Linked DNA regions of Homo sapiens: regions 2, 3, 4 and 5 are each linked to region 1. The links are contacts of gene promoters, found by promoter capture Hi-C in blood cells and fetal thymus (Javierre and others, 2016). All regions are on one chromosome and are shown on one strand. Each heading gives the region's core, a stretch centred on a gene start or on the middle of the fragment in contact. The rest is flanking DNA. Distances are from core to core; before and after follow the strand shown.

Region 1 (3,620 bases), core at 1-2,500:
CATGTTTTGGGCAAGGGGGAAGGAATAATGGAGGGAAAAGGGCGGACTCTTGGGGGGAAACCAGAGTCCTTTCACAAACCCGGGAGCCATATGTCCAAATTTGGAATTGTCAGAGAAGACCCACTAGAATCTAGGGAAAGGAAGGAGGAGGCAGGAAGCCGTGGCCAGATTAGTTGTCCCAAAGGACCTCCTGCCCTTTCCCCTTGTAGGGCCTACAAGGGTTGTGCCAGGCTTCCCAAATCTATAATCAAGACTCCCAAACCTGCAATCATTCCATACAGCTGACAAATAAATCAGTTTTCAAAGCCATTGTTTCCTTTGAAAGAGACTGGGTTTCTCAACTATGGACTTGGAGAAGGAAATCCAGGCTCAGAGAGGGAAAGCCACCGCCCAAAGTCACACTGCAACAGGGGCTGGGATTCCGATTCAGGGTATTTTGCTCCCATGCTGGTATATGGGGAATTATTTGAAGCCCCCAAACTTTGGGAAGGCCTAGACCGCTTAGGGGATGCAGAAAGAAGGGTAGTGCCCCTGCCTCACCATAGGAGGCCTCGGAGCCCCGTTGGGAGACTGCATTCATAGACAAGCAGTGGCCCAAAGGGGATGGGGTCCAATGAGGCCCTGAGGTATGTACGACCGGACGTTCAGCTCTCTGCACGCAGGCAGCCCTCCCCCGACACCACACACAAGCCATTTTATAAGCAGCTGGAGGGTCCAACGCTCTTGCTCTCAGTCTTGGGCCTCAGCCACACCCTTCTCTGCGGGTCCTTTGACTGGCGTCCAGCTGACCCCAACCCCGGACCTTCAAAGTCTCTTGAGCCCCCCCAAATTAAGGCCGGCAGGACCAGCCCCTGGCTCAGCTCCGGCGCCCAGGACCCTCAACCAGACCCTCTGCAGCAACGGGACTCCCTCCCCTCCCCCTAGCCAGGGCGCCCTCCGCCCGCGCCTCTCCGCCCCGACCCCAGATTTGCTCCGCTGCGCTCCCCAGACACACCCAGTCTGCGACACTCTCGGGTTACCGCGCCCTCCCGTCCCTGCTCCTGGCGGGGGGTACCCATCAGCCGATGACTGGGCGCTTATTTCTTGTGTCCCTGCAGCCCCCGGGAAGGGGTTCCCAGAGCGACTCCCCTCTCCAGCCTCAGCCCACTCACCGCGCAGCGGAGGCCTCGGGTCGCAGACGGACGCACGGGCGCAGGGACTCGAGGACGCAGCGCTCGCTGGATCGGAGCCCGTTAGCCCAGCAGCAACCGCAGCGCGGGGCGGACCGGGAGGACAGCCGTGGGCTCCGAGCCGGACACGTGGCGCGCAGAGGCCAATCCGGCGCGCCCGCCTCCCTCCTCCACCCCACCCCTCTAGCTCCTTAGCTCTTGGAATCTTAGAATGTCACTAGCCCGAGGGGCTTGCCGGGAGAACCTCCTCAGTTTCCAGCCCCCGGATCTGAGACTGAGAAGGATTAGGGGCTTTGGCCAAGGTCACGCGGCCCTTCAGGGCTAGAAGTCAGGGCTCCTGACTCCGGGTTCTGGACACTTTCCCGCAAATTCTTATAAGTCGCCAAAGCTTTGTTGAGAAACAGAAAATTGAGGTTTGCCAGGGGCACTTTATCTGCCTGATCAGATTCCATGCCTCAACAGCCTCATTAGGTCGGTGACATTATTTACCCACTTTCAGGAGGAGAGCCCAGTCCAGTTCCTGGACCAAGGTCACACAAATAGTGGGTTGCGGAGGCAAGCTTCTTCGTGCTCTGGGAAGCAGGGAAGGCAGGCAGGGAGACCAGCAGTTGTAATCCAGCGCTAGAACAGGAAAAATTGATAAACTGAGAATACAGAGGAAACTGAGAATTATTGTCCCCAGGGGATTGGTAAGGAGAAGATGAGGAAGTTAGAAGAATTGGACAGATACCTGCGGAAAGTGTTCCAGGCAGAGGAAACTGCTGGAGCAAATGCTCCTAGCAGGAGGCCACCTGGCGCCTCCGAGGATCAGCAGGGGGGCCAGTGTGGCTGGAATGGAGTGAGTGGGAGGGAGAGGAGAGATAAGAGGGACCCAATCAGGTGGGACCTCCGGGGCCCTTGAAGGCACGCTGTCTTTTACTCTGAGTCAACTGGGGATCCATTGCAGGATATTGAGCAAAGAAAGGGTATTATTTTTGGGTAGATGAAATCCACACAACATAAAATTAACCATTTTAAAGTCAACAATTCAGTGGCATTTTGTACAGACACAATGTTGTGTATCCACCACCTCTATCTAGTTCCAAAATATTCTCTTCACGGAAAAATAAAACAGTATACCCACTGAGCAGTCACTCCTAACTTTCCCTTACCCCTCGTCTCTGGCAACCACCAATTTGCTTTCTGCTTCTGCGGATGTGCCTATTCTGGATATTTCATATACATGGAATCACATGAGATGCAACCCTTCTTGTCTGACTTCTTTCATGTGGCATTTTGTTTGTTTGTTTTTGTTGTTGTTTTTTCACTCTTGTCGCCCAGGCTGGAGTGCAGTGGCGTGATCTCTGCTCACCACAACTTCTGCCTCCTGGGTTCAAGCAATTCTCCTGCCTCAGCCTCCCGAGTAGTTGGGATTACAGGCATGCGCCACCACACCCAGCTAATTCTGTATTTTTAGTAGAGACGGGGTTTTTCCATGTTGGTCAGGTTGGTCTTGAACTCCCGACCTCAGGTGATCCACCTGCCTCGGCCTCCCAAAGTGCTGGGATTACAGGCGTGAGCCACCGTGCCTGGCCTCATGTGGCATGTTTTTGAAGTTCATCCACACTGTAGCATGTATCAGCACTCCATTCCTTTTTTTTTTTAGTTTCAGTTGGAGTTTTGCTCTTGTTGCCAAGGCTGGAGTGCAATGGCGTGATCTCGGCTCACTGCAACCTCCACCTCTCAGATTCAAGGAATTCTCCTGCCTCAGCCTTCCGAGCAGCTGGGATTACAGGCATGCACCACCACGTGTGGCTAATTTATTTTTGTATTTAGTAGAGATGGGGTTTTACCATGTTAGTTAGGCTGGTCTCGAACTCCTGACCTCAGGTGATCCACCCGCCTTTGCCTCCCAAAGTGCTGGGATTACAGGCATGCGCCACCGTGTCCGGTCCAGCACTCCATTCCTTTTAATGGCTGAATAATTTTCCGTTGTATAAGTACACTATAATTTGTTTATCCATCCATCTGTTGATGGATAGTGCATTGTTTCCCCCTTTTGCTGATTGTGAATAGTGCTGCTAATGAACATTTGCATACAAATACTTATTTGAGTACCTGTTTTCAATTGTCGTTGTGTATTTACCTAGGAATGAAACTGCTGGGTCATATAGTAATTCTACATTTAAGTTTTTGAGGAACTGCCAAACATTTTTTCAGAGTGGCTGCAACATTTTATATTCCCATCAGCCATGTCATGTATGAGGCTTTTAATTTCTCCATGTCCTTGCCAACACTTGTATTTTATTTTTTAAAAATTTGTACCCGGCCAGGCACAGTGGCTCATGCCTGTAATGCCAGTACTTTGGGAGGGCCGAGGTGGGTGAATTGCTTGAGCCCACGAGTTTGAGACCAGCCTGGACAACATGACGAAACCGCATCTCTACAAAAAATTAACCAGGGGTAGTGGCA
Region 2 (3,620 bases), core at 337-2,836, 490 kb after region 1:
AGGCATGTTTTTGGCAAAAGACTTCATAAGATGTTATCTCAACATCTTATGAAGTTGGAGCCCTAGGAGGGAAGGCAGTTGCTAAACCAGGTGGGAAAACAGATAGGGTGGGAGGGAAGGACTTAGGTAGGTTCCCACACTGGTTTGGATCCAGGGCCGCCTCTGGAACTAGGTTTCCTGGCCTGAGGAGGGTGGCCTCATGCCTTTTCCACTCTCCTAGGACTAGACAGGGAGAAAGAAGAACGTGGAAGGGAAGGAAGGGGAGAAGAGAAGAAATGAACTGCTTAAGTTCATGGCCCCATTCTACTCCTCAAGCTGGACAACTTAGTGGAAAGAGTTGCAGATGTAAAGTTACAGATGCAAGGAAGCTTCAGCATCATCCAATCTAACCCTCTTATTTCTTTTTATTTATTTATTTATTTATTTGAGACAGGGCCTCCCTCTGTTGCCCAAGCTGGACTGCAGTGGCACAATCTTGGCTCACTGCAGCCTCCTCCTGTGAGGTGCAAGCAATCCTCCCAGCTCAGCCTCCCACGTAGCTGGGACTTCAGGTGCATGCCACCATGCTCAGTTAATTTTTTTTAAATTTTTTGTACAGACAGTATCTCAGTATATTGCCCAGGTTGGTCTCAAACTCCTGGGCTCAAGCAATCCTCCCACCTCGGCCTCCCAAAGTTCTGGAATAACAGACATGAGCCACTGTGCCCAGCGAAGCCTCTTATTTCATGGATGAAAAGACCAAGGCCCCCAAGATGAGTACTTCCCAATGCTGACCAGAAGATGAGATGGCCTTCTCCTGTGCCAGAGGAAGTTAAAAGTGATGCATTTTGAAGGAAATTTTGGCAACATTTGTCAATGTTTTAGACACACATACATTCTTTGGCCCAGCAATTCCACTTCTGGAACTTCATCCCACAGAAACCCTTGTACATGTGTACAGAGATGTATGTACCAAGTTGTCCTCTGTAGTGTGCTTTGTCAGTGCAAGACACCTCAAGAGACAGTAAAGGGTGTGCTTAGCAGTAAGTGCAGCATTAAACTGCTACATTGGTATTACAAAATACCATGCAGCCACCAGAAGGAAGGAGGCAAATATATCTCATTACTATGGAAAAATTATGAGTGATATTGATTGATTGATTGATTGAGATGGAGTCTCGCTCTATCGCCCAGGCTGGAGTGCAGTGGCATGATCTTGGCTCACTGCAACCTCCGCCTCCCAGGTTCAAGCGATTCTCCTGCCTCAGCCTCCCAAGTGGTTGGGATTACAGGTGGCTGCCACCATGCCCAGCTAATTTTTGTATTTTTTTTTTTTTGAGATGGAGTTTTGCTCTTGTTGCCCAGGCTGGAGTGCAATGGCACAGTCTCAGCTCACTGCAACCTCCCCCTCCCTGGTTCAAGCGATTCTTCTGCCTCAGCCTCCTGAGTAGCTGGGATTATAGGCACCTGCCATCACGCTCAGCTAATTTTTTGTATTTTTAGTAGAGACAGGGTTTCACCATGTTGGCCAGGCTGGTCTCCAACTCCTGAACTCAGGTGATCCACCCCCACTTGGCCTCCCAAAGTGCCAGGATTACAGGTGTGAGCTACCATGCCCAGACTAATTTTTGTATTTTTAGTGGAGATAGGGGTTTCACCATATTGGCCAGGCCAGTCTTCAACTCCTGACCTCAAGTGATCCGCCCACCTTGGCCTCCCAACATGCTGGGATTACATGCGTGAGCTACCGTGCCCAGCCTATGAGTGATATTTAAAATTAAAAACAAAGCATGGCTGGGAAAGGTAGCTCACTCCTGTAATCACAGCATTTTGTGGGGCCAAGGCGGGTGGATTCCTTGCCCCTAGGAGTTCAAGACCAGAGTGGGCAACATAGTGAGATCCCATCTCTACAAAAAAAAAATTAGTTGGGTGTGGTGGCACACAACCTGTAGTCTCAGCTACTCAGGAGGCTGAGCCAGGAGGATCACTTGAGCCCAGGAGGTCGAGGATTCAGTGAGCCCGTGTTTGCACTACTGCACTCCAGCCTGGGTGACAGAGTGAAACCATGTCTCAAAAAAAAAAAAAACAAACAAATAAATAAAAGCACATCAAATATATTGTGTTATCCCACTGATCCAACAAAAAAATGTGTATATGCTTATGTATTATTTTATTTTTATAGTTTAATATGTATATTTCCAGAAAGATATGCAAGAAATATTCATAGTTAATTTACTTCATTTTACACCCTTATGCACAGTTTGAAGTTTTTGTTTGGTAGATTTTTATCACATGTGTATTACTTTCATTGCAAAAAGAAAATTGAGATGGAATTTGCTCAGCTGGGATCATGTAGTCATCCAGTTACTTTTGGGACTGGAACCAGACCAGGTCTCCTGACTTGTCTCTTTTGACTTTTGCGCACTGCCTTCTCTTCTAAGCTCAACAACCAGACTTAGGGCAGAGAGGGCTCTGCCTCCTTTCCATCTGTCCAATGGCTGAGAACTGGGGGTATGAAACTGTCAGTGCTCAGGGATGATGACATTCTAGGTTTTTGGGCTTCTGCCTATTGGATTCCTTTTCTGGCTGCACCACTAAAAGTAGATAATAAGCAAATGACAAATTCCTTCTCTTTTCTGAGACTCAGTTTCCCCACCTGCATAGTGGTAGCGTGGGTGTGGGTGGTGAAGTGAAGCTCACTCCTTCAATGTCCTGAGAACCTTTTAGCTGATGCTGCTGCTCCTCCAGGCTTGGGAGCATGGGGCTCAGGAGTTTTCATTCCTTGAGCCAGGCTTCCCCCTGCTGGTCTCTGCCAGTAGCGCTCGGTAAGCTTCCAGTAAAGTGTTCTAACTGGCCGTTGGTGGGGCAGGAGCTGGAGAAGCTCGACATCCTGCAGTGGGTGAGACAGTTGTGCACAGTGAAGAATTGTCTCACCTCCTGCATGGCTTTCCAATAAACAGATGATCTGAGCTTGGAACGAACTCCCCTTTACAAACATCAACAAAGTGGTTTGGGTTTGTGCTGTTTTGTGTTGTTTTGCTGTGTTTAGAGATGGTCTCTGTTGCCCAGGCTGGAGTGCAGTGGCATGATAATACCTCACAGCAGCCTCCAACTCCCAGGCCCAAGAGATCCACCCACCTCAGCCTCCCATGCACCTGGGACTACAGGCTGGTGCCACCACACCTGGCTTGTTTTTGTTGTTGTTTTGCATTTAAGATATATTGAATTGCAAAGACCCTGTAAATCAAGGGATGCTTGAACTTAGCTTGGTCCAGAGCAAGAGTTGTTCACCATCTCACAAAATCATGTCACCAGTGCCACTTGTGTGGGAATCACCTTTTCAACCCACTTGTGTCCATCTGCATTTGTAGCCATAACTCTTTGCGAGTATGTAACCAAGGAGCTCTGAGACTTCTGTTTAACAGATGGAGAACTAAATATTACTAAATTAGCACAAAGATATATGAAATACAGACACTTTATTTCATTTATGAAGGCTGTTTAAAATATATATTATTGCCATGTTTTATGTTTTTAAATTTTTGGTAGCACAATAAGAAAGCTATATTGTGAAAAATTATGTTCTTATTTATGTATCTTTTGGTTGCCTGTTTTTTTTCAGCCTGACTGATACTGTCCCC
Region 3 (3,620 bases), core at 829-3,328, 460 kb before region 1:
TTTGATTTCTTAGTAGAGATGTGGTCTCACTATGTTGCTCAGGCTGGTCTCAAACTCCTCGGTTCAAGAGATCCTCCCAAAGTGTTGAGATTACAGGCATGAGGCACTGTGCCCAGCCACATAAGCACATTATTACTGTGGCACCATAAAGGACAATTTTACAAAAATTCCAGTCAGCATGATACTAACAATAGAGAGACTACAGAAAAATGTATTTTGTACAGAATGATCATTCTTGCAGTTTTTGCAAATAAATTATTCCAGGGCAGTTAAAGGCAAAAATAACTCTCTAACTTATACCCACAAACCTTAAATCTGTCTCAGTAATGGTATCACCTAGACCACCAACATATAGTGTGGTGATAGTTTTATCCTCTGGTGGGTCCAGCCGAGGCATTGTTGAAGCCCGCTTTAGAAGCTTGTCAGCTACAGGATCATTGATTCCGTAATAACGGTCTTTAATATTCTGATCAGCAAGGGGGTCATCTGGATCTGTAGGCTTCTCATGTCTATGATTCAAGAAAAAAACAAGGCATAAAGGTGAAACGAAGGTGAAAAAATGATTATCTTCCAAGAGTAGCTACATATTAAAGTCCTAGATACATATTCTGAAGTGCCTTTTGAACTAGAAACTATGGTTTCTACCAAAATATAATTACCAAAATAGACCTAATACCAAGAGATTTACTGTATCACGGAAGGAATTACTAGCCTCCTAAAAGCCATTAGGCCATCTAGGATGCCAAACTTTCCTTATAAATAAATACTCTTGACATGATCCACCCCCTCCCGCCCCCCAGAAAGGGACACATGATTACCCCTCTCTAGGTCAATGATTCTTAACACATTTGGGGTGCTGTATTCCACTGAGAATCTGATTAAAGCTATGAACCTCGCCCCAGAGAAAGCACATACATTATTTTTTAGGGGGTGGGGTTAACCAATCCCAAATTAAGAACTCCTAATCCAGATGCTTGGCAGTCTTAACCAAAACATACACACCCTTTAGAAGTCTGACCTTACTTTGACTTCAACTATACATTGAGAGTCAACTCATTTAAACCATGGCAGTGAAGATTTACTTCTCAGGCAGAAATGTTTAGGGTCAGCATCTATATTGTATGGCATAGCAATTTAGTTTCCAAGGCTCAATTGTAAGTAAAAACTACAATTTATTCATGCTCTTCTAAATTTCATAGTTCTAAGACATGAGGTATACCACATTAGTTGTATGACCTTTAGATTTTAAAGCAGAAACAGTTTAAGTTAGGACCTCCCACTTCTTAGATGAGAAATCATCTGAAAGCAAATACTGAAAATGAGGCTCGCTCTTGCCTGTATGGACATTCCTCTCCTCTCTTACACTCTCCTTTCACCCAGAAGGAGCAAATGTGGGGTCGATTCCTTTTGTAGTAGGGTGTGGTCCGGGCCAGTTTGAGCAGCATGTCACTGGTAGATGTGGCTTTCCCCAGCATGCCAACTGGCCGTGTTCCATCAGAGTTAGAAATCTAAGTGGGGATGACAAATTCAAAAGATAAATTATACAGACTGTGTCAATTCATTAGGATTTTTATCCAAAAAGTGGCAGCATACCTCTCTCTCCATATTCTGTGTATAGTACTCTTTGTTGACATCTGACTTTGGCATGTCATCTTTAAAAGACAATCCTGCGTCACGAACCTGGATGGGCAGGCCTGGTACAAAAAAAGAGGAAAAAGACCTCAGATGTATTTTAAAACATATCCATACTAACCATGCACACAGAATACATCATCTTTCCCTTCTCCTCTTTCCTATTTAGTACCAGAGACTTTACTATGTTTTTATTCAAACTCTTTAGCACCATCAGGTTACTTCTGCTACACAGCATGCTAAGAAATTGTCCAAATTCCTGAACTGTCAGGAAATTTGATGAAATTAATGCTTTAGAAAAAATCTTTTAGGCTGGGTGTGGTGGCTCATGCCTGTAATCCTAGCACTTTGCAAGGCTGGAGCTGACAGATAGCTTGAGTCCAGGAGTTCGAGACCAGCCTGGTCAACGTGGTGAAACCCCATTTCTACAAAAAATACAAAAATTAGCTGGGTGTGGTGGTATGCACCTGTAGTCCTAGCTACCCAGGAGGCTGAGGTGGATCACCTGAGCTTGGAAAGGTTAAGGCTGCAGTGAGCCATGACCATGCCACTGCACTCCAGCCTGGGCAACAGAGTGACACCCTGTCTCAAAAACAAAAAACAAAAAAATTATAAAAGAAAATTTTTAGATGAACAAACTGTGCCCATGGTCATATTCAACCTGTAAATTAGCTCCTAGTTTTTATTACAACATGATTTATTTAAAGTAAATGTAAAAGTGGTTTCTTTCTAGGTTAGTCTTACAGATCCTCTGGATAGTCACAGTCATCTAAGGGTCACTGTACTCCAGGACCAGACGCCTCCTTAACAAACATATAAATAATATTACATAAAATGTGGCCAGGACTCTGACTAGAAGAGTAACTCTAATGAACTTAACATACATAAACTCATATATTTTTCCCTTTCCTTTAATAGTAAAAACTCTTGTTGAAAAATTATCTTTCTGAAAAACAGTCACCTATGGTTAAAAAAAAAATTACTCCCAAAAGCAGTTACTCTGAAACAGTAGCAATATATCAGTTCTAACAACACAATTGAAATAAAAGTCTAAAGCACAATTAGGCTGGCTATAGTGGCTCTGGGAGGCCAAGGTGGGAGGACTGCTTGAGGCCAGAAGCTCAAAACCAGCCTGGGCAAAATAGTGACACACACACACACGTGCACTGGGTGTGGTGGTATACCAGGAGGCAGAGGCAAGAGGATCCCTTGAGCCCAGGAGTTCGAAGTTGCAGTGAGCTGTGATCACACCACTGTACTCTAGCCTGGGTGTCAGAGTGAGACCCTAACTCAAAAAATAAAATAAAATAAAGCACAATTACCCTGTGAGCTTCTGATTGGGATGGTGGAAAAAAGCTCTGGATCAAGAAAGAAGCCTAAGGCAAATAAATTATCTATCATAGGATCAACGCCTTTTACCTCACTTGGGCTACAGAGATGAAGGTTTAGGCCACTTTTGATTAATTCCCAACTTTTCCTTAAGTTCCTACTATTGTTCAGGACTCTAGAGTGGCCTAATTATGGTTCTTTTCCTGGGAAAAGCAGACCACGGCAGACATTCCAAAGTGAAATCAGAACCAGAGCTAGGGTGCGAAGTGGGAGACAAAAGACTGACTTGTAGTTTTAGGCACCTGCACACTTTCAGATTTATTGGACAGGTCAAACATACCATACTCTAGGTCTAAGAGGCAGGTCTGACAGACATTCTTCAATTTACTGCAGGTTTGGCACACTTCAGTCTTCTTGAAACGCATGCGGACTCCAGGGCACCAGCGAAACACTGTGAATGGCCTGGCACAGATCTGGAACACAAAGCAAGAGCCATAGAATGTCAATGGTCCTGATCTGGGCAATCTGGAGATCTGATAACAACGGGGCATTCAAAAAAGGATCCCTGAATGTAGGATTTAGAAGAGACCTTAGCAATCATCTAGTTGATTTGATGTTTCAATACAATTTTCAGCATCCTTCTCCAGCAAAAATTCAGA
Region 4 (3,620 bases), core at 430-2,929, 430 kb before region 1:
AATAGCATCGAAAATGCTACCAGTGTTTAAATTTTCTCAAAGATTTCACAAATTTTTCTTTCCTTCTTTCCTCTTTCCCTTCTTCCCTCCTCCCCTGGGCCCTTTCTTTCTGTTTTGTTTGAATCCGAATCTACGTAAACTCTATACATTGTGTTTGGTAAACTTTTAAGTCTCTTCTAATCTAGAGAATGATTAAGTAACATTAGCCACTAGCGACATGTGGTTATTTAAATGAAATTAAAGACTGACTCAGTACCTCAGCTGCACTATCACATTTCATGTGCTCAAGAGCCACATGTGCCTAGTGGCTATCATGCGGGACTGTACAGACACAGAATACTTCCATCACCATAGAAAGTTCTGTTGGATAGTACTCCTCTAAAAGGTTTCTTTTCCATTTTGTTTTTACAATTTATTTATTGAAGAAACTCTGTCATTTGTTCTGTAGATTACCAGAGCCTGGATTTTGCTGATTTTTCTTGCTTTCTTTTAAATTGATTATTTTTTATTGGTCCTCCCTGAGCCTGAACACTAGCCTAAAAGTTCACACTCTTTCACTATTCTTTTAGGGGTTAACCCTATGTACTTAACCTTCAGATACTTCATTTTCTACATTTGTAAAACAGGTTTAACAGTAGTACCTACCTCACAGAGTTGTAAGAGCTGTTTATATTGAAAGCATTTAAAATAGTGCCTGGCAATTAGTATGTTCTCTACAAGTATTTTCTGTATTTAATACATTCCAAAGGTTTTGACATTAGTCAGACACCAGCCACATTTATTTTTGCTTTCCTCTTGTACAAATGGTCAGTCTACAGAATGGAATACTTACACGGCAGCGCAGGGACCGTTTGATCAGAAGATGTTTGTGGCGAGGATAGAGCTGTGAAGCACAGACTGGCTGGAAGTCAGGCTGTAACAGACGCTGCTGAAGGGTTGTTACTAGAAAGAAAGGCAGAAAACAGGCTTAGTTTACAGTGACTTTCAAAATCAGACTTTTATGTACCAGTAATTACACGAAGCATTACTGCCTTTACGAACAGTGTTGTTCATAAAAATGAAAATATAGAAAGTTGACATTTTAGATTTCAAACAATTACCTCTATTACAGCTGTTTTATTTTCTACATATTGTTTTTACTACTAACAGCTATTCCATTAAAAATCTCAAATCACTAGGTACATAAATAACAAAAACAGAATTAGATGTAGACTAGAAACAAAGTAGAAAAACACAGAAAATTACCCTCTGTTAAATTTACTGGTCTTGTATAATAGTCTTCAGGTAGAGGTTCCACTTCATCCACAGCCTGAGCTGGCTCAATCTTTATCTCTTTCTGATCCTCTCCTTCTTTAAGGCTGAAAAATTAAAAAAACAAAACAAAACAAAACAAAAGAGTAATTTCTCACGGATCCACCTGATTATCCTCAGTCTATGATATCAATAATTGAAGTATTCCTCTGTCATAGAATATCTGTATAGCGTAGGTCTTTTCTAAGTATGAGAATCTTCTTTTCCATTGACAACTGTGTGTGTGTGTGTGTTTTAATCTCATTTATTTGATATTCATTTTGATACCTGCTGTTCTCCTCAAAGTCATTTCATGTCTAAACTTACGAAAGTCCGGCAAGGGTACTGATGGATGCACCAGCTCGTGGTCGCTGAAGCCTGGTTCCAAGACCATATTTGTCCTAAACAAAGTTCAGAAATTCCTATTAGAAAGTCCACTTTTACACACCCTATTTATCAAAAGAAAGAATTTTGGGTAGGATAGCATGAGAAGCTCAGGGAAATAAGCAAAAAAAAAGCTAATCTAAAGGCTTCTTTTAAAGAAAGCAATTTGTAGCCCCACATCATTATTCTATTCTTAAAATAATAACAGCACTAAACATGGAGATTGAAACTATATTAATACAGTAAAAATGAACCAAATGTGAGCTTCTGCTAGTAATCTAAAAGTATCTAAGCTACGGCTCAGGCAAGAACTATGTGGAGTGTCTAAGATACACAACAGACGTCTTCCTGGAACACCAGTGGTCATCTGCTAACTTCTTCAGGGTCAGCAAGAATCATAAAGGAGAACTTACCACTACATGAATAGTATGTTGCTGTAGAGCCCCAAAATAGCAGCAGGTTGCAACAGAGACAAAAAATGCAGCATAAGATAGAAGCAAACGCATATAGCAGGCAGGTTATATGGGAAAATTGGAAGAATAATTCATTTAATTCAAATTCTACCTCTAAATATAACACACATTGGTGCATATGCTGACTATACCACTGGACTATTCAGAAAAATTCACTTCTTTTTGCAAATGTAGGTGCTTTGCAAGTGTTAATGTTTTTAAATTCTAATCTAGATTTTTTTTGAGACAGAGTCTCACTCCGTCACCCAGGCTGGAGTGCAGTGGCGCTATCTTGGCTCACTGCAACCTCCGCCTCCTGGGTTCAAGCGATTCTCATGCCTCAGCCTCCCAAGTAGCTGAGATTATAGGCGTGCGCCACCATGCCCAGCTAATTTTTTGTATTTTTAGTAGAGACAGGGTTTCGCCATGTTGGCCAGACTGGTCTTGAAATCCTGACCTCAAGTGATCCCCCCGCCTCAGCCTCCCAAAGTGCTGGGATTACAGGCGTGAGCCACTGCACCCAGCTTAATCTAGGTATTTTTATATGGACTTTACCAACCCTTAGGGTTTCAATGACTTAACTAATTTTCATGTGGATGCAGTATGACAAGTTGCTTAACTAGGTCCCATTTCCTCAAGCGTAAAATGGGGATATGATACTCCACAGGATTTTTGTGAGGATTAAGTAAAGTAATACATGTAAAGTGTTTATTTAGCACAGAGCTTGACACATCATTGCCATTCAATAAATGTTATTTATTGAATGTCAATTTGCTGGGCCCCAAGCAAGCACACAGAAAACAAACTGTACTATGAGAGCAAATAAAACTCGGGGTAAAATAACAAAAATTCCAAATCCTAATTTCTTTCTTCTTACTAGCAGTACGTAAACTGGTAGAGAATGACTCTCATAAATAATTCTTATCAAAAATTCTACTTGCATATATTACTATTTAACCACACAAGTGCACTATGTAAAAAGTCAGTGTTTTTCATCTTGGAGAAACAGGGGAGGATGTTAAAAAAATTATAACTAAAGCTGAGAAACCACTACTGCCAGGATGTCAAAGGTGGGCTACAGGGGTAATATGACTGAAATCTACCATTTGCCCACCTCCTTCTTCTCAGACTTTCTGTAATACACAAAAGCTGTACGTGGAACTCTGCAGTGCCTACAAAATTAACAGCCTTTCTGGGGAAATAATCAGAAGATAAAGGGGAGTGATGGAGAAAGAAACACAAATGTCCTCAAAACACAAATAACTCAAACAGAACTAATGATATAGCAAAAGCCTAACTATTGGACTTAAACGTCTATAATTTGAAGAATCCCTCTCTCTGATATCCACCATTCAGGAATCTAGGACAATGGCCATTTTCTGAAATGATCACTGTTCTTAGGCCTTAGAGGTCTTGCAAATCATTTTAGTACCAAATTCTCACCGAAAAAGCCAGAGGCATATAGTTTCTACGTCGTGCCAGTTTCTTGCGATC
Region 5 (3,620 bases), core at 539-3,038, 350 kb before region 1:
ACCAGATGGCGATATAACTTTTTTTTCAAATGGAGTGGTTAGCCTGCCGAAGTTGTGAGAGTCAGTCCTACAACATTCCTAGCAGATCAAGATTTTATGTTCCCAGTTCTGGCTTCAGAGACTGTAGCGATAACACAGGGCTCATGCAGTCCAACATCCCGTATAATACAGGTTGCCAGTTGTTGCCTTTTCAGTATTTCTCCTGTGTGATCCTGGACTGCTTGTGTCAGATTCACACAGGAGCATTTGCTTACAAATGCAGCTTCCAGGGCCCTGCTTCAGACGTACTGACCGAGAATCTCTGGAACTGGTTCTTCAGTATCTGCTTTGCAAAAACAATCCGTAAGTGCTCAACAAACAGGTTAAAGTCTGAGAGCCACGTGCCAGTGAAAAGGAGGTTCACGTCTTGCTGAAGCCACCCCTTATTAGCTGTTTTGTTAGAATTCCTCCCTCGGTGAGAGTGGGATTAAGGATTCAGGGATGCTAGTTCTGCCCTCTTGAGGCCACACTGAAGAGATCAACTTCCTTTTTCTTGGGAAATGTCTGAACATTTTGAAGGTCGCTAATCATGACTTACCTCACCTCCGCCCCTATCTTCTCTGGGGGTGGGGAAGAAGTCATACTTTGCATTACAGGTTGGCTGTCATCCTCCTTCCCTTTCCAGGAACACTATAACCAGAGACTAAGAGCGAGGACCTTCACTATTTCTTAGCTTTGTGATCGTGAGCAAATAACATAAACTCTTTGAGCCTCAATTTCCTCTTCTGTAAAATACGAGTGAAAATAATTATACCTACTTCAAAGGATTGTTATGATTATTACATGGGGTGATGAATGCAAAGTGAAAAGGTAAAATATAGCAAAATGTGATCTATTATTAACAATAATGAGCTTCAGTTTCTACATCTGTAAAATGGTGATGATAACTACTAGAGCATGGGGAGAATTAAATGAGGTAATATAAGTAAGGTAGTTGGTTAATGTCTGACTTAGAAGAGGCTCTCAATAGTAGTAATTATAAGATGGCCAATAATGTAAAAACACCAATGGTCTATGCCCCTAATGATGTGGGATTTTAAAAATCACTGAAGTAATGAGATTAGCAATTTCCTTACTGTTATCCTGTAGGATCAGCCTTAGAACAAGTATAAAACTTGTATCTCTTCTATACTAAGTTCCTTTTAGAAAATGTTTCTTAATGAATCCACAATTATTTAATAAAACACAAAGTATTCAATTTTTAAGTATTAATTCCTCACAGAAATTGCTTTCTAAAGTTTTAAGGGTGCAAAAAACATTAAAAATCTTTCAGTAAGCTAAAACTTTAATTAGGCCCTTATATAATTCTTGCTAAAGAGAGAGAATGGAACTGAGACTGTGAAATGAAATGACAATGATAATATTTCCTTTGAAATTTTTAAGGCCAAGTTGCATTAATGCAACTTTGAAATTGTTCCAATCACACAAGGTATTTAATTAAAGCAAATGAAAGGCTCTTCAATTCCCATAAAGATTTACATGGTAGGAAAAATGTTTCTGTTTTAGCAGGTCTATAACATCATTTTTAAAAATTACAAAAATTATTGTATCTACTTTTAAAGCTGGACAGCAATAGTTATAGAGAGAATCATTTAATTTTAGAGTCAAGCAGACCAAATTCCCATCTGGCTCCACCAGCGTGTTCCCTTTAGAAAGTAACATTTAAGAGTTTCATTGCCCTTGTTTGTAAAAAAGGGGATCATATTTGCCTCCACAGTGCCGCTGAGGGGTTTAAACAAGGTGCTGAATCTAGAACACTTACAGAGAGCCTGTAATAAGTACTCAGTGCTTAAATGTTACCTAAAAACAAAGGAAGATCATTAGCACTACCGTAAAAAATTATATATGGGTGGGGCACATTGGCTTGATTGGTTTCGCTATATGGGTTTCAACCAAACGTCTTGGGGAAAAATTCGGAAGGCAATAAAAGGAAAGTGGAAAGGACAAAGAGGATTGGAGTTGGGGAGGGTAAGAGACAGTTATAAGTCTGAGGAAAAATTAGGAAATAGCATAGAATTCTAATTCAAATAACTTAATTACCCTTGTATTTATATTTTTTCTTAAAGTTGTTTTACTTTAGTGAGCAGTCTTTCTTCTCAGATTGTGTCTTAGCATATTAATGAAAAAAACAGATGATAATATTACTGTACAATAAGAGTTTAGCAGTGATTGAAATTCAGTGTCAATGAAGACACAGGGCAATGGAGAGAAAAATCATAGATATGTCATGAAAACAGTTTTAGTAATTTTTCATTTCAACAACAAATTTCATAATAATGATATAAGTACATTCTTTATTTTATATATATATATGTTCTTTTTATAGAGATGGGGTCTCACTGTGTTGACCAGGCTGGTCTTGAACTCCTGGTCTCAAGCAATCCTCCCATCTTGGCCTCCCAAAGTGCTGGGATTACAGATGCGAACCACCATGCCTGGCCTCTGAATTTTAAAATAGTTATGAGTGCCTTTAGAATTTCTACTATTGGAGCCCTTTATGCTTCTATTTACCTTCAATCAAGATTTGCACCTCAGAAAACATAGTTACTTGTTGTTGTTGTTGTTGTTGTTAGGAAAAGTTCAGTATGAATGCTGTTGTCTCATTCTACATAGCAATTGTTTGGGTCATGTATAATAAAGAATTGATACCTACTCTAAAAATGAAGATATTTTGTGTTCTAGGAATTGAGTGGCACTTGGTCAAAGAATGATTTATGGAATCTCTGGGCATAAGGGGAATTGATTGCTCTTTAGTTTTTCTTTTCCACACTTAGTACTAAATTATTTTGAATTTATGGGAAGTTAAGCTAAGTGAACCACATCTTTCCATTTTGTTGCAAGGAGCTTATCACTTTCTAAACGGAGAACTATACTGTCTCGGAGTAATGGATTGAATAGTGGCCCCCCCAAAATTATGTCCACTTCCTAAATCGCAGAACCTGTGAATGTTACTTTGAAAAAAAAAGGGGGTCTTTGTAGATGTCATTAAGTTAAGGATCTCCAGATGGGGAGGTGATCCTGGATTATCTGAGTGGGTTCTAACCCAGTGACAAGAGTCCTTATAAAAGACACACGAAGGACTGACACACAGAGATGAGAAAGAGGCAATGTAACCATGGAGACAGAGACTGGAGTGATGTGCCACAAATCAAGGCAAGTTTGTAGCCACCAGAAGACGGAAGAGGTAAGAAGTACATCATCCCCTGGCCTCCAGAGGAGTGTGGCCCTGCTAACACTCTGATTTTGGACTCCTGGCATCCAACTGCGTGAGTATAAATTTCTGTTGTTTTAAGCCACCAAGTTTGTGGTCATTTGTTACAGCGGCCACAGGAAGCTAATACACAGGGTAAGCTGATAGGGGAATGAGAGAGTTTTTTCACAGTTGCATGAATGGGTTAAGAATTCTAAAGAATAATTAGCCAGGTGTGGTGGTGGATGCCTGTAATCCCAGCTACTCGAGAGGCTGGGAGGCAGGAGAATCACTGGAACCCGAGAGGCGGAGGTTGCAGTGAGCCAAGATGGCGCCACTACACTCTAGCCTGGGCGACAGAGGGCGACTCTGTCTCAAAAAAAAAAAAAAA

What was found. Contacts are between HindIII fragments. The CHiCAGO score rates a contact against its expected background, and 5 or more counts as called.
Region 2: a contact is called between a fragment that was not itself captured here and the fragment with the promoter of ANXA6 in region 1, in 2 of 17 cell types (erythroblasts and endothelial precursors). The highest score is 6.0, in erythroblasts.
Region 3: a fragment that was not itself captured here is called in contact with the fragment with the promoter of ANXA6 in region 1 in 4 of 17 cell types (fetal thymus, naive CD8 T cells, total CD8 T cells and 1 more); the score reaches 7.0 in fetal thymus.
Region 4: a contact is called between a fragment that was not itself captured here and the fragment with the promoter of ANXA6 in region 1, in 2 of 17 cell types (total CD4 T cells and neutrophils). The highest score is 5.2, in total CD4 T cells.
Region 5: a fragment that was not itself captured here is called in contact with the fragment with the promoter of ANXA6 in region 1 in 1 of 17 cell types (fetal thymus); the score reaches 5.3 in fetal thymus.

Annotation. Positions count from the first base shown.
Region 1 is chr5:151,156,529-151,160,148 of GRCh38, forward strand. It overlaps ANXA6 (annexin A6), which reads right to left and starts at 1,251. Exons shown (of 26, transcript NM_001155.5): 1 at 1,152-1,251. RefSeq lists an enhancer at 1,412-2,268 and a silencer at 2,064-2,123. The HindIII fragment of the contact is 7,741 bases long and covers 1-1,555 here.
Region 2 is chr5:151,649,433-151,653,052 of GRCh38, forward strand. All of the region lies in intron 1 of LOC105378231 (a long non-coding RNA gene), which reads left to right. It overlaps LOC124901116 (a long non-coding RNA gene), which reads right to left. Exons shown (of 2, transcript XR_007059007.1): 2 at 2,135-2,869. Among named protein-coding and RNA genes, the nearest start is that of CLMAT3, 26 kb to the right of the region's middle. The HindIII fragment of the contact is 2,441 bases long and covers 367-2,807 here.
Region 3 is chr5:150,695,198-150,698,817 of GRCh38, forward strand. RBM22 (RNA binding motif protein 22) reads right to left here. Exons shown (of 11, transcript NM_018047.3): 4 at 3,302-3,434; 5 at 1,594-1,694; 6 at 1,336-1,508; 7 at 309-509. Among named protein-coding and RNA genes, the nearest start is that of RBM22, 4.1 kb to the right of the region's middle. The HindIII fragment of the contact is 3,324 bases long and covers 417-3,620 here.
Region 4 is chr5:150,729,799-150,733,418 of GRCh38, forward strand. DCTN4 (dynactin subunit 4) reads right to left here. Exons shown (of 13, transcript NM_016221.4): 5 at 3,570-3,620; 6 at 1,618-1,691; 7 at 1,246-1,358; 8 at 833-942. Among named protein-coding and RNA genes, the nearest start is that of DCTN4, 27 kb to the right of the region's middle. The HindIII fragment of the contact is 7,333 bases long and covers 1-3,620 here.
Region 5 is chr5:150,801,233-150,804,852 of GRCh38, forward strand. No RefSeq gene overlaps it. Among named protein-coding and RNA genes, the nearest start is that of SMIM3, 24 kb to the left of the region's middle. The HindIII fragment of the contact is 4,840 bases long and covers 1-3,620 here.